Regions from separate parts of the Homo sapiens genome. Here regions 1 and 2 are each linked to region 3. The links are contacts of gene promoters, found by promoter capture Hi-C in blood cells and fetal thymus (Javierre and others, 2016). All regions are on one chromosome and are shown on one strand. The core of a region is centred on a gene start or on the middle of the fragment in contact, and the rest is flanking DNA. Distances in the headings are between cores, read along the strand shown. Region 1 overlaps LOC105374211 (a long non-coding RNA gene). Region 2 has its middle 14 kb from the start of RPL22L1. Region 3 holds the start of GPR160 (G protein-coupled receptor 160).

Region 1 (4,571 bases), core at 714-3,213, 770 kb before region 3:
CCATTTGGGACAATCTCTTTCACATGCGCCACACCATTCCCCTTACCACGCCAGCAGATTCAAAGAGGCAGCTTGGTACGTTTTGGTAGGTTTTGGGAGTGAGAAGGCCTGGGGTGGGGGTTGCGGCAAGAGGAGAGCAGCAACCCCTCTCACATTATCAGCTGTGCAGAACCAAGGAGAACCTAAGAAGATCCGCCAAACAGAAAAAGCTGAGATTATGCTTCACAGACCCAAAGACTTTTAAGCTCTTTATTAGCTGCAACAGAATCACCACATGGCAGTACAAAAATGTTCTTGAACTTGACACTTGAACTTGGCTGCAACCCTGCTGGTAAAACTTAGTAATTAGGCAAACAAAAAGCTGGGGAGTGCAATTACGGCCATTGAACCACTAGGGGGCACTCATGGTTTCTCATTCAGAAGAGGAGAGGGGAGGAGGAGGTTATAGGGCTATGGCTTAGGGTGGGGCATTCAGTGTGGTATTGGAGAGGGATGAAAGTTAAAGCTGTTTTGTGTGTTTGTTTTTTGGAGGGAGAGGTGTTAAAGACCTAGTTATTTCGCTAATAATATAGTATGCATTAACCTGGCCTTGACTTCTGTGAAGCTAGCGGGCCCAATAGACTAGCTGGTGGAGAGTTCTGGAGTGTGACATCCCAAACAAATAATTGTTCACTTTAAGATAACTTTCTTTCGTGGGCATTAGAAAAAGGGCATGTTTTGCATCACGAGGGAGAGCGTTTTACGCGCATGCACACACATACTAAACAGACACACCTACTGACTTAAAAACATCAACACACTGTCTGAATATTGCTTCAGGTTGGAAAACAAGGTTGCATCCAAATTGTGTCATCTTTTCAAAATACAGCTGGAGAGAAAATGCTGCCTATATTTCAGGGAGCTTTTAAATTTCAGTGACATACCAGTCTAGGCTGCCAAAAGCTAGAAGAACATGAGTCATCAAGCTAGGTGCACTGATCATAGGAAACACCAGGTCTCAGGCTCCAGCCATCCCCTATCCTCTTCCCTACCCCTACACAAATTTGTGGCTTGTGGCCAGTACCAGGATTTGCTGTTAGTCCCCATGTTCCCGGGGCCTCCTTTCCTCTAAGGTCTTCCAGCCATTGTAACTGGCTTTCTTCCCTTTTATACCTAATAGAGAACTGCTGAGGGCCTTCTTCTTTGTATTTGGGATTATCGGATCAAAAGATTGAAAGTGTGATTGCCAGGTTCTCCCAGAGCGTCCTGCATCCAGATTTGCCACCCTCATCTCATCTGCAGGAGGTGACAGTCAGAAGCAGAAGTTAGACCATGGGCAAGGGCCCTAAAATATTCATTAGGCAAAAGCAAGAAAGCTTGCCTGCCATTGGGGCAGGTGTTGGGCTTGAAACGTTCAGTGTCATTATCTCATTTAATTTTTACAACAATCTGCCAGTTGCTATTACCACCTCCATTTTACAGATAAGGAAACCGAGGACCAGAGAAGCTAAGTACCTTCATATAGATCTGGGATTTAAATTCAGGCATTCTGACTTAAAATTGAATGTATTTTTTAGTCCTAGCTACAAAGCCACTGTCTACCAGAACTACTTGAAATCTCCTTCCCTTTTCTCTGGCTTCTCCTTGTAATTGAGGATCTTACATTGGCAATGGTTATATGAATGATGACGATGATAATTACAATACCAGCTAACTTTTACTGATTACTTACTATAGGCCAAGCAATGTGCTCAACACCAAACTTTTATATCTTCAATTCTCACAGAAAATTTACCGTGAAGTTAGTATTTTTACTGCCATTTCATAGATGAGGCACCTGAAGCTTAGGAATGTTAAGAAATTTTTGCAAGATTACACACCCAAGTAGAGCCTGGTTTGGAACCTAGGTCTAATTGCCCCTAAGCCCGAGTATTTAAACCACTATGCTATACTGTGCATAGGGAGATAATTGAATCTATGGAGAAATACTCAGGGCTATAGTACTACTAATCAGACCTTTAAAAACTGAAAGAATAGTGAAAAGGGGTATAGTCATATCTTTATGTGGCATGGTATAATGATGAAGCTGGAAAAGAGTGCTTACATTCTAAAACAGGAAGCTTTCTAACCTTCCCTGCTTAGAAAAATAATCAACTCTGATTATTTCCATGTATTCTGTTCTTGAATTGGAAATTCCAGGAGTCTGGTTTTAATTGCATAGGAAGTCAACCTGGACTGTTATTGTTTGTCAGGAGTCTGTTTTATCATTTTTATGGTCAAGCAATGGACTTCATCACTAGGGATTTAGTTCATGTGTGTTTCTGTTTCAATGGATACTATCAAGTAATTAAGGTTGAGGGAATGAATGGCTACTTTATTGCTAAACGCTAGCATCTGGCTATAAAATGAGGAAAGAGGGAGTGGTCAGGGGAAAGTGGAAGTATGACTAACACTGAACTTCAGTTAATAGATCTGGACACATTGAACCTGAGTAAATAGGTCTGATATTCTCCTGCTTGCAATGCTGGGGATGAAGTAGATGAGCTCCTTCTCACCAGCACCTTGAAAAGAATCAGATATTAAACTAGAACTCAGCAACTACTCAGTATTATTGGAGTAATATTTTTAAACCCAAAGCATTTGAGTAGTTCCCTAACAATATTTCAAAGAACAAACAAAAAGATGTGTTCATCAGCAAGGTCAGATGTGTATCATCTGAATGCCTGCACTGTGAATAGCTCTGCTAATTGGTGAGCTGAGCATGAAGTGACTTGGATGATTAATTAAGGAGATAGGCCTTGAATAGGACGGAGGTGCATGGCCATTGTTGAGCACCTAAGGCAACAGCCTAAGGAGGAAAACTCACTGAAATTCCCTAGGTGGCAGCAGTGAACAAGGCGTTAGAAGGCCCCGAGGATGTGACAGCTCAGAGAAGGAGTATCTTCTAGGGGTCCAGGAGAAGCTGGATTTGCCATCTGGTTTAAGATTTTGAGGTGGGTGGAGATGGGTGTGGGAATGGGAGACAGTGTAGCACAGCGAAGAGTTAGAATCAGTAAGCCTTCTTAGTCCAGCTCTGCCGATCACTGGCTGTGTGGCCTCGGGACAACTGTTCTGTCAGCAACCTCCACCCACCCCCATTTCCTCCTCCCACAAATGGGGCTAGGTGAGGTCATCCCTGGGTACCTTTTGGCATTATATGATTCACAATTTGATGATGCCTCTGGCATTTTCATTGCACTCTTTACAATGAAAGAACTTGATTACCTTGGTTGGGACGTGGAGGAGAGGGTTGTATGTGTGTATTCCAGAGAGATGCATTATGCTACTGTCTTTTTAGCAGTGTTCTCTGTCTGGAGAATATGCTGATCTTTGCAAACTAGAACAATATTGTTGTCCTACCATTAGCGCAGGTAGGTTTTATATGGTTGACATAATTCGCTCACCTATCGCGCACTCTCAACCGTACGCCCTTGCAGTCCCGCAGCTGTGCTCATAAGGGACAGAGCTTTTTAGCACTCTCTTCCAGCCAACTGAGTTTTTGGCTATGTCTTGGTAGTTATAATATCTTTGTTCTTTTTACGTGGTGCCAGGCACTTTGTTAAGCCCATAATACCTCACAAACATACAGCTCTTTTATTCTACCTTCAAGTAGCTTTTAATTATCTTTGTTTAAACAAACCAATCTCTCAAACCCAATTCACCTTAATAATAACTAATATGTACAAATGTTTATTATGTGCCAGGCATATATGTGTGTCCTGAATATGTTATTCTATTTAACCCTTAAAATAAGCCTATGGATTAATACTAGTACTTTACATTATCTGTAGATGGAAATTGAGGCCTAGAGAGGTTAAATAACTTGCCCAAGGCCACAAGACTGATACACAGCAGAACCAGGGTTTGAACCCAGGAAGTCTGTCTCTAGGATCCTCCAAGACACTGCACTTGAAAAAGGGCTAGTGATTTATGCACATGGCTTCTTTTCTTCTCCACTAGATTAAATATAGGTTTTTTTGTTTTTGTTTACTTTTTCAATTTGTTAATTTGCTACAGAGACACTGTATTAGTTCGTTCTCACACTGCTATGAAGAAATACCCAAGACTGGGTAATTTATAAAGACATGAGGTTTAATTGATTCACAGTTCCGCATGGCTGGGGAGCCCTCGGGAAACTTATAATCATGGTGGAAGGCACCTCTTCACAGGGCAGCAAGAGAGAGAATGAGTGCCAGCAGGGGAAATACCAGACATTTGTAAAACCATCAGATCTCATGAGAACTCCCTCACTATCATGAGAACAGCATGGAGGAAATCACCCCCGTGATTCAATTGCCTCCCACCGGGTCGCTCCCACAACATGTGGGGATTATGGGAATTACAACTCAAGATGAGAACTGGGTGGGGCCATAGCCAAACCATATCAGACACTCTGATTTAATTTTGTTCTCTTCCTAGGATCTATAGTTTGGGAATGTCATCACAATAACAAATCCCACCACCACCTCACTAAGATAATTTGTCTCCCCACTAACATTTATTTTAAAAGTCTTTTTTTTTTTTTTTTTTTTTTTGAAACAGTGTCTCGCTCT
Region 2 (4,114 bases), core at 1,379-3,878, 820 kb before region 3:
GTCTTGCTCTATCACCCAGGCTAAGTGCAGTGGCGCGATCTTGGCTCACTGCAACCTCCGCCTCCCAGGTTCAAGTGATTCTCCTGCCTCAGCCTCCTGAGTATCTGGGACTACAGGCATGTGCCACCATGCCTGGCTAACTTTTGTATTTTTAGTAGAGACGTGGTTTCGCCATGTTGGCCAGGCTGGGCTTGAACTCCTGACTTCAAGTGATCCTCCTACCTTGGCCTCCCAAAGTGCTGGGATTACAGGGGTCAGCCAGTGTGCCTGGCCAGGAGTCATCCATTTCTACAAGGAGCTCTGGACTATTTTCTAGGTGCTGGAGATGCTTGTCATTACTGGGGTGGTGTTTGTTTCTAGGCCTTTTGAGTGGACAGAGTGAAGGAATACATTTTTGTTCTTAAGAGGAAATGATATGTTTATTCTGATGCTTCCAATTCAAAATCAGGATAAAAGAGTTTTTATTTCATCAATTGTATGACCATATCTCTTTTTTCCCATGCTGAAAGTTCCAGTTCTCAATGACACCAACACAAATGCTCATTTGCTTTATCTCACAATATACACATAATAGTTTCAATAAAATAATACCAACAAAACTACCTATAATATAATGACTTTACAGCTTAAGATTGTTTTGCAGTTCTTTTTGTCCTTATGGTATATCCCACTAGAAATGAACAAAGTTTCGTGTTTTAAAGTCACTAGAAATGATTCATCTCTGTGTGGGCGTAGAACAAGCTTGATACACAGAGTCATTTGTTTCATTTTGCTTTTGATTAAAAAGTTTGCTTAAGCCCACTTTGTTTTTTATAATTCTGTAAAATATTTACAGGATTCTAAAGTCCAATCTACAAAACAAAGTATATTTAGAAAAGTCTAGTTTCTCTGTCTTTTTTTTTTTTTTGAGACAGAGTCTCGCTCTGTTACCCAGGCTGGAGTGCAGTGGTACAATCTCAGTTCACTGCAACCTCTGCCTCCTGGGTTCAAGCAATTCTCCTGCCTCAGCCTCCTGGGTAGCTGGGACTACCAGCTCCTGCCACCACACCCGGCTAATTTTTGTATTTTTAGTAGAGAAGGGGTTTCACTATATTGGCCAGGCTGGCCTCGAACTCCTGAACCTGTGATCCACCCGCCTTGGCCTCCCAAAGTGCTGGGATTACAGGTATGAGCCACCGTGCCCAGCCCCTAGAGAGGAGTTGTAAACCTGAGACTTACAGGTCAAAAGATAAATGAATGTGTAATTTCTAGATATTGCTGAATTTCCCTTTACAGGGGTTGTAGCATTTTGCTCTCCCACTAGCCTTCCCACCAGCAATCTGTGAAATCTGTTTTCCTGTAGACACACCAAGAGATAACCTTGTCCAATTTGAGGCTTAACTGACAGGTGAGACCTGGTTTTCAGGGTAATTTTCCTTTGCATTGTATTTGTGAGTGAGGTTGAATGTCAATAAGGGTCATTTGCATATCTTTCTCTGTGAGCTGCCTGTTTATATCTCTAATATATATCTGTGGAATTCTTGTTTTTATTTTTAATTTTTTACTTTTAGAAGCTCCCTCTATGTTAAGGCTATTAACTCCTTGTGTGTGATGTAAATTACAATTTCTTTTTTCAGCTTCTCATTTGTCTTTTTCCCCTACTTATGGTATTTTTGTTTTTTAACTTTTTTTTGAGACAAGCCCTTGCTCTGTTGCCTAGGCTGGATCATGGCTCACTGCGTCCTTGACTTCGTAGATTCAAGCCATCCTCCCACCTCAGTCTCCTGAGTAGCTGAGACTACAGGCACACACCACTACCTGGCTCATTTTTTAAAAAATTTGGGTAGAGATGGGGTCTTGCTATATTGCTCAGGCTGGTCTTGAATTCCTGAGTTCAAACAATCCTCCTGCCTGAGCCTCCCAAAGTGCTATTATTGCAGGTGTGAGCCACCATACCCAGCTGCTATTTTTCTTTTGTTTTATTACTAGTTTTCATTTTGTTTTGTTGTAGTTGTTGCTATAGAAGCATTATTTTTATTTTTATGTAATTAAATCAATTAACTTTTTTCTTATTGCCATGGTTAGAAAAGCTTTCCCCGTTATCAAGAATTCATTTATGTTTTCTGCTAGTACTTACATATTTTCATCTTAAAAAAATGTAGGTCTCTATTCTATTTGGAATTTATCCTGGTTTACAATTTGAGAAGTGGATCCAATTATACCTTTTTCCCATGTGACTACCCACCTATACCATTACCCCTGATGAAAAAGTTCCCAGGAAGTTTTGCTTAGCATAGGTTTTCCTACTTACTGTCTGGAAACCCTTGTATGTGGTCATGCTGAAGGGACTGGAGTCTAGATATATAGCTTCAGTGTGTGCTCTTTTACAAGCTGGATGATTAAAATGCCAGGAAGGCCAGTTTTAAACAATGTGTTGCATTTACAAATGGCTTTCTCTTTTCTTTTGATCCCTTAACAGCCCTCTGTGGCACAATATTATCTTCCCATTTTTCAGATGAAAAAACCAGGTCTCAGGTTTACTGGCTTGCCCATGGTCACACCATGGCACCCACCTCTCACTCCTCACCCAGTGCTCCTCCCACACACGGGGCCATGTCACACATCCTGCCTCTCTGTTGCCTACTAGCTTTGTGACCTTGGACACATCTCTTCACCCTCTGGGCCTCAGTTTCCCCTTCTGTATATAAAGAAGTGGTTAAAAATAGGTCAGCATTTCTCGGGCTTTAGTAACACCTGCTTCCTTTTGATAAACACAGATATTTCTCATGTTCCTTGTTCCCAGTTCCAATTGCCACCCTGTGATATAACTGATGCATAAATATCCCCACCAACCAAGGTATTTTGGGGCTTTCTATTCTGAAACAAAACAAAGTAAGATTTTTGGGATAATTTTCCCACTATAAACTCATAATATTGGATATACCTTTTTTTTTTTTTTTTTTTTTTTTTTTTTGAGACGGAGTCTTGCTGTGTCGCCAGGCTGGGGTGCAGTGGCGCAATCTCGGCTCACTGCAACTTCCGCCTCCCAGGTTCAAGCGATTCTCCTGCCTCAGCCTCCTGAGTAGCTGGGATTACAGGCCCACACCACCACACCTGGCTAATTTTTTGTATTTTAGTAGAGATAGGGTTTCACCAGGTTGGCCAGGATGGTCTCGGTCTCCTGACCTCATGATACACACAAGCTTCTTGAGAGTAACATACTTCCCCCATGATAAGGCTTTTTTTTTCTGTCCTAAAATCCTATGAGTTAATGAGCCAAACTGGGAATCATGATCTGCTATCTCAATTATGATGGAATAGATATGTTTTCTCCCAAGGGAGGGAACACTGCAACTCCTCTCTCCCTCTTTCTCTGAGATGGGGAGGTGTGAATTACAGATTCCATACATGTCACAAATATATGGTCAATGATTTCTGCCTTGGCAGTCGCAGTCATGGGAGATGATGGGTGAGTTATATATACTCTCTGCACTCAAGGAAATCCCAGTTCTAACGAGGGGAGCAAATGTGGGTACAAATGACTTTAGGTAAGTGTGGTTCATGCAGTAATAGAGATATTACAAAATGCTTTAGAAGCACCAATACCATAATGAGTGGGAAAAGGAATCCAAGAAGGCCTTCTGCAGGAGGTGGCTTACCCTGACTTCTCTTTAAGGAAGAATGGGAATTGATGGGGCAGAGAAGAAGAGGGAGAGAATTCCAGGCTGAGGAGGAATGGTGATAGTGGCTACTACTCATCGAAGGCATCTGTTTTGGAATCTTTACATACTACATCTCATTTAATTTCCACAGCTACCCTTCAAGCTAGTTATTAGTCCCCTTTTACAAATCAGAAAACCAAGGGCTTAGAGTGCTAAACAGTCGGTCTACGGCCACACAGCTAATAAGTTCCAAATTGGAATTTAAATTCAGATCTCTCTGGCTTCAATGCTCATGCTCTGTAAATGCTTTAGTGTAAAAAAATGTTTCTAAATTTCTCCCTGCCAGGCAATCTTTTCTCACAGTGATGCACATTCAGCTGGCTCCTTAGGAGAACCAAGCCTAAGAATAATCTAGCTTTTGAAGAGAACCAAGCTTCTTTTTTCCTCTTCTGGAGAACCACAAACTGGCTTAA
Region 3 (4,017 bases), core at 364-2,863:
CCTTCCCGAGTAGCCGGGATTACAGGCGCGTGTCACCACACCCAGCTAATTTTTGTATTTTTAGTAGAGAAGGGTTTCACCATGTTGGCCAGGCTGGTCTCGAACCCCTGACCTCAGGTGATCCACCCACCTCGGCCTCCCAAAGTGCTGGGATTACAGGTGTGAGCCACCGCACTCGGGCATCATCTCCATTTTAAAAAACATTCATCAAATCAGGATCCAACCAACGTCCACACCTTGTATTGCCACCGAATTTCTCTTAAATCGTTTTGAAACTGCACACAGGTCCTCCTCCCTGCAATTCGCATAGCAACCAAGCTGATCCTCACTGACAATTTCCAAATAACTATAATAACTCTATTCTGGAGATATCACAAGTGCCGGTCTTAGAGCTTGTCAAATGTATACATATATGTTTATATTTATATATAAATGCACAAAAGCACACAAGAAACCATTTCACTCGAAGCAATAACAATCCTGAGAGCTAAACACTCGTTCATGTCTTTTGTGATGCTTCTCGGTGGGGGTTATCTCTGGGATTTAAGCGACACTTCCCCTTACCGGAGACATTTGCGCAAGTGTAGGACGAAGCGAGAGCGGTTCCTTCCAGCCGAACCTGCCTCCGGAGGCCCGGTCCGTGCGTTCGTCTCCGGACTGCAGGGGGCGGCCCTGCCACCACCTCGAGGCCACCTGCGCAGGTGAGAAAAGGAGTTTCAGTCTCCGGGTTCCTGGGGGTGGTCGCAGGTAATCTAGAGGGAATTTTGAGCCAGCCAGGATGGTCATCCAGGAACCTACCCGGACGCAACGGCCTCGGAAAACAAATAGCCGGGCAAGGCCCTGGGGCTTAATCCCAGTGGCGGGCGCGGGCGGGGGCGCCGTCCCCAACGCTCGAGGCCAGGGGAGGGGAGGCAAAGTCGGCCCCAATGAATGCACGCACGCGCGCGCGCGCGCGTGTGTGTGAGACTATTCACCTCTGGGCGCCAGGAAAGAGCGAAGAGTTGCATACACCCATTTCTATAACCTTGCTGGGTTTGTCATGTTTAAAAAGCATCTCCCCTGGAGAGAGGGTGGCGAGTCTCTGGGTGCGGGACACGCCCATTCCCCAGACCCCCTGCCCTCAAACCCACGACAGACCCCAGTTGCTAAGGCTCCGCGGTAATCCCCATCCCGAAGCAGGAAGGCTCGGGCGTCCGGGCTCCACTCCTGGATCTCTTAAGTAGCAGAGAACCCCCAGCCCCTGAGTTCCTGCAAAGGAAATTCCTTCCCCTCCCAGGCGCGCTGAACGCCCGGCCAGGGAGGCTGGGAGCGGCGCGGGGACCGTTCGCCGCCCCGAGGCTGGGACGCCGGTGGCGAGAGCGCCGGGCGCCCTCCACCTGCGCCCGCACTCACCCGAGGATCGATGGCTGTCGGCTCCGCAAGGTTGAGGCCCCGACACCTGCAGCGCCCGTGCCCAGGTGACCGCCCGAGGGAGGGGCGAGGGCCCAGCTCGCCCGCCTGGTCCCGCCCCGCCCCGCCCCGCCCCGCGCGCTCCCGGGAGGGGCAGGGGAGCACGGCCCCGGGACCCCGCGGCGACCCTGCTGTGGCTCAGCCGGCTCCAGACCAGGAAATGCGGGCGTCAGAGACGGGCAACCTTTGAGCGCGCACGTCCCGTCCGGGCCCAACGAAACAAGGGCCGGAGGGCGCCGCCTGCCGGCGGGACGGAAAGATATCACAGAGACTGTCACCCCCCGCCGGCTAGGAGAGGGCTGAGTTGAGGCTGGCAGAGGGACGCAGCCAGGGGTGCGCAGTGCGGGAGCCGCTTGGGGGCTCAGTGAGACCCCCTTCCTCATGCCACATCTTGAGGACCCGGCCCCTGTCCTAGGAGCTCCCCATCTCCCCAGCAGGCGGGCGAGCGGGGGCCACTGGGTCAGGGCCTCTCCTTCCCTTACCTCTGCAAATGTAAACTTGGCAGTTGTCTCCAGATAAGAGTTTACACAGGGTGGCCAGGCGGTGGCTCATGCCTGTAATCCTAGCACTTTGGGAGGTCAAGGTGGGCGGATCACTTGAGGTCAGGAGTTTGAGACCAGCCTGGCCAACATGGTCCACGTTGGTCCCCATGTCTACTAAAAATACAAAAATTAGCCGGGCTTGGTGGCACGCACCTGTAATCCCAGCTATTTGGGAAGCTGAGGCACGAGAATCGCTTGAACCCAGGAGGCGGAGGTTGCAGTGAGCTAAGACCGCACCACTGCACTCCAGCCTGGGCAGCAACAGCAAGACTCCGTATCAAAAAAAAAAAAAAAAAAAAAAAAAAAAAAAAAAAAGAGTATACACAGGGTGACAGAACTTCTTGAAACTTGTATGCTTCTAAGCAACCGCCTGCAGTGTACTGTGAATTCAGATTTTTAAATAAAAATCTGCAAATATTAAATAGCCCATATATTGCATTGCCTTTTTTGTGTCAACAGTGCTAATTTGTTGTCATTCAACAAATATTTGTTGAGCACCTACGACTTGCCGGTCATTTAAACATTTAAAATATCGAACAATTAGGCCAGCGCAGTGGCTCAAGCCTGTAATCCCAGCACTTTGGGAGGCCGAGGCGGGTGGATCACTTGAGGTCACGAGTTCAAGACCAGCCTGGCCAACATGGTGAAACCCTGCCTCTACTAAAAATACAAAAATTAGTTGGGCGTAATGGCACATGCCTGTAGTCCCAGCTACTTGGGAGGCTGAGGCAGGAGAATGACTTGAACCCAGGAGGCAGAGGTTGCAGTGAACCAAGATCACGCCATTACACTCCAGCCTGGGCAACAGAGACAGACTTCATCTGAAACAAATAAAATAAAATAAAATATTGCACAATTTCTTCCTTCTCCTCTTCACGCAGAGCCTTGAACAAGGGGAGTGTCCTGAGCCTCTCAACCTCTCTGAGTGTCATAGCAGTTAGAGATTAAAGATGACCATGTCCATACACGTTTGTATCTCTCCACAATGTCAGTCTTTTTTTTTTTTTAAATGCTATTTCAATCACAAAATCCAGGAGCTACATGGAGTTCCCAAGGAGGCAATTCTCCTTAGTCCTTCCCATTCACTCTGTAGTCAGAGCACATAGGTTCAAGCCACTCCATAAGTCAGTAAATATTGCAAACCATACATACTAGTATACTTAATCACTATACGAATGTTGTAGATTAAACATTCCACAACAAAGTAATATTTAACATCAAGACGAAGAAGAGGAGAAAGGGTTAATGAACCAGTCCAAAGGGAGGGAAGAAGACAAAGGGAGTCCTGGTCTGGGCCTGGTGGTCTTGCAAGGAAGAGTCTTTGATGTGGCAGAGCTTTCGGTGGCAAATTCTGAGTTCTTATCATGAGTGACTGCAAGACGGTGTTAGTGAAGACAGCCAAGCTGAAGGCTTCGCTCTTTTACAGTCAGAGGGTCCTCTGGTGAGAACTTATAGTGGATGAGTGTGCTTGTTTGTGTTCTTTTTTAAAATTTGTTCGTCAAGCAAAACATCTTATCCTTGTTAGCAAAGTGCCCATGAAATATAAAATGGAGGGTTTTTCTAAGATGGAATTAGTTACCTCAAGGGTGGTTTATACACTGAGAGTCTGGACTAGCCTTGCAAGGAACTCAGTAATTGCCCAAGGGTGCAAGAAGAACCCTGATAGAATTAAGTGTGGGTTGCTAGGGAGACTGAGGAGCAGCTTCACCTGGCCTGGAGTGGCAGAGAGAACTTCCTGGAGAAGTGCAGAGGCCAACTGAATCACAGAGGAGTACCGGGTTCAACGGGATGTGAGGTGCTTCCGCCAAGATTCCAACGTGTGCAAAGTGGGAAGTGGAAAGCCAGGCAGAGAGTTCATGTTCTAATAAGGGAATGGCAAGTGGGTCAGAAGACCTGAGAGGGAGAGGATGGGAGTTGAGTTAGAGCAGAGGGCATGGGGGCCAAATCATACTCATAACAAAAATAACCATCATCTAGGGAGTGGATAGTATAGAACAGGAGCTGGACATACATAACTTCAAACGAG

What was found. The method cuts DNA at HindIII sites, captures the fragments that hold promoters and counts their contacts. A CHiCAGO score of 5 or more calls a contact.
Region 1: a contact is called between a fragment that was not itself captured here and the fragment with the promoter of GPR160 in region 3, in 2 of 17 cell types (total B cells and fetal thymus). The highest score is 9.6, in total B cells.
Region 2: a contact is called between a fragment that was not itself captured here and the fragment with the promoter of GPR160 in region 3, in 1 of 17 cell types (total B cells). The highest score is 5.1, in total B cells.

Annotation. Positions count from the first base shown.
Region 1 is chr3:170,807,977-170,812,547 of GRCh38, reverse strand. All of the region lies in intron 2 of LOC105374211 (a long non-coding RNA gene), which reads right to left. Among named protein-coding and RNA genes, the nearest start is that of RPL22L1, 60 kb to the left of the region's middle. The HindIII fragment of the contact is 277 bases long and covers 1,825-2,101 here.
Region 2 is chr3:170,854,340-170,858,453 of GRCh38, reverse strand. No RefSeq gene overlaps it. Among named protein-coding and RNA genes, the nearest start is that of RPL22L1, 14 kb to the left of the region's middle. The HindIII fragment of the contact is 1,113 bases long and covers 2,072-3,184 here.
Region 3 is chr3:170,035,591-170,039,607 of GRCh38, reverse strand. It overlaps GPR160 (G protein-coupled receptor 160), which reads right to left and starts at 1,613. Exons shown (of 4, transcript NM_014373.3): 1 at 1,393-1,613; 2 at 565-693. RefSeq lists silencers at 589-638, 799-848, 1,159-1,638 and an enhancer at 234-733. The HindIII fragment of the contact is 12,490 bases long and covers 1-4,017 here.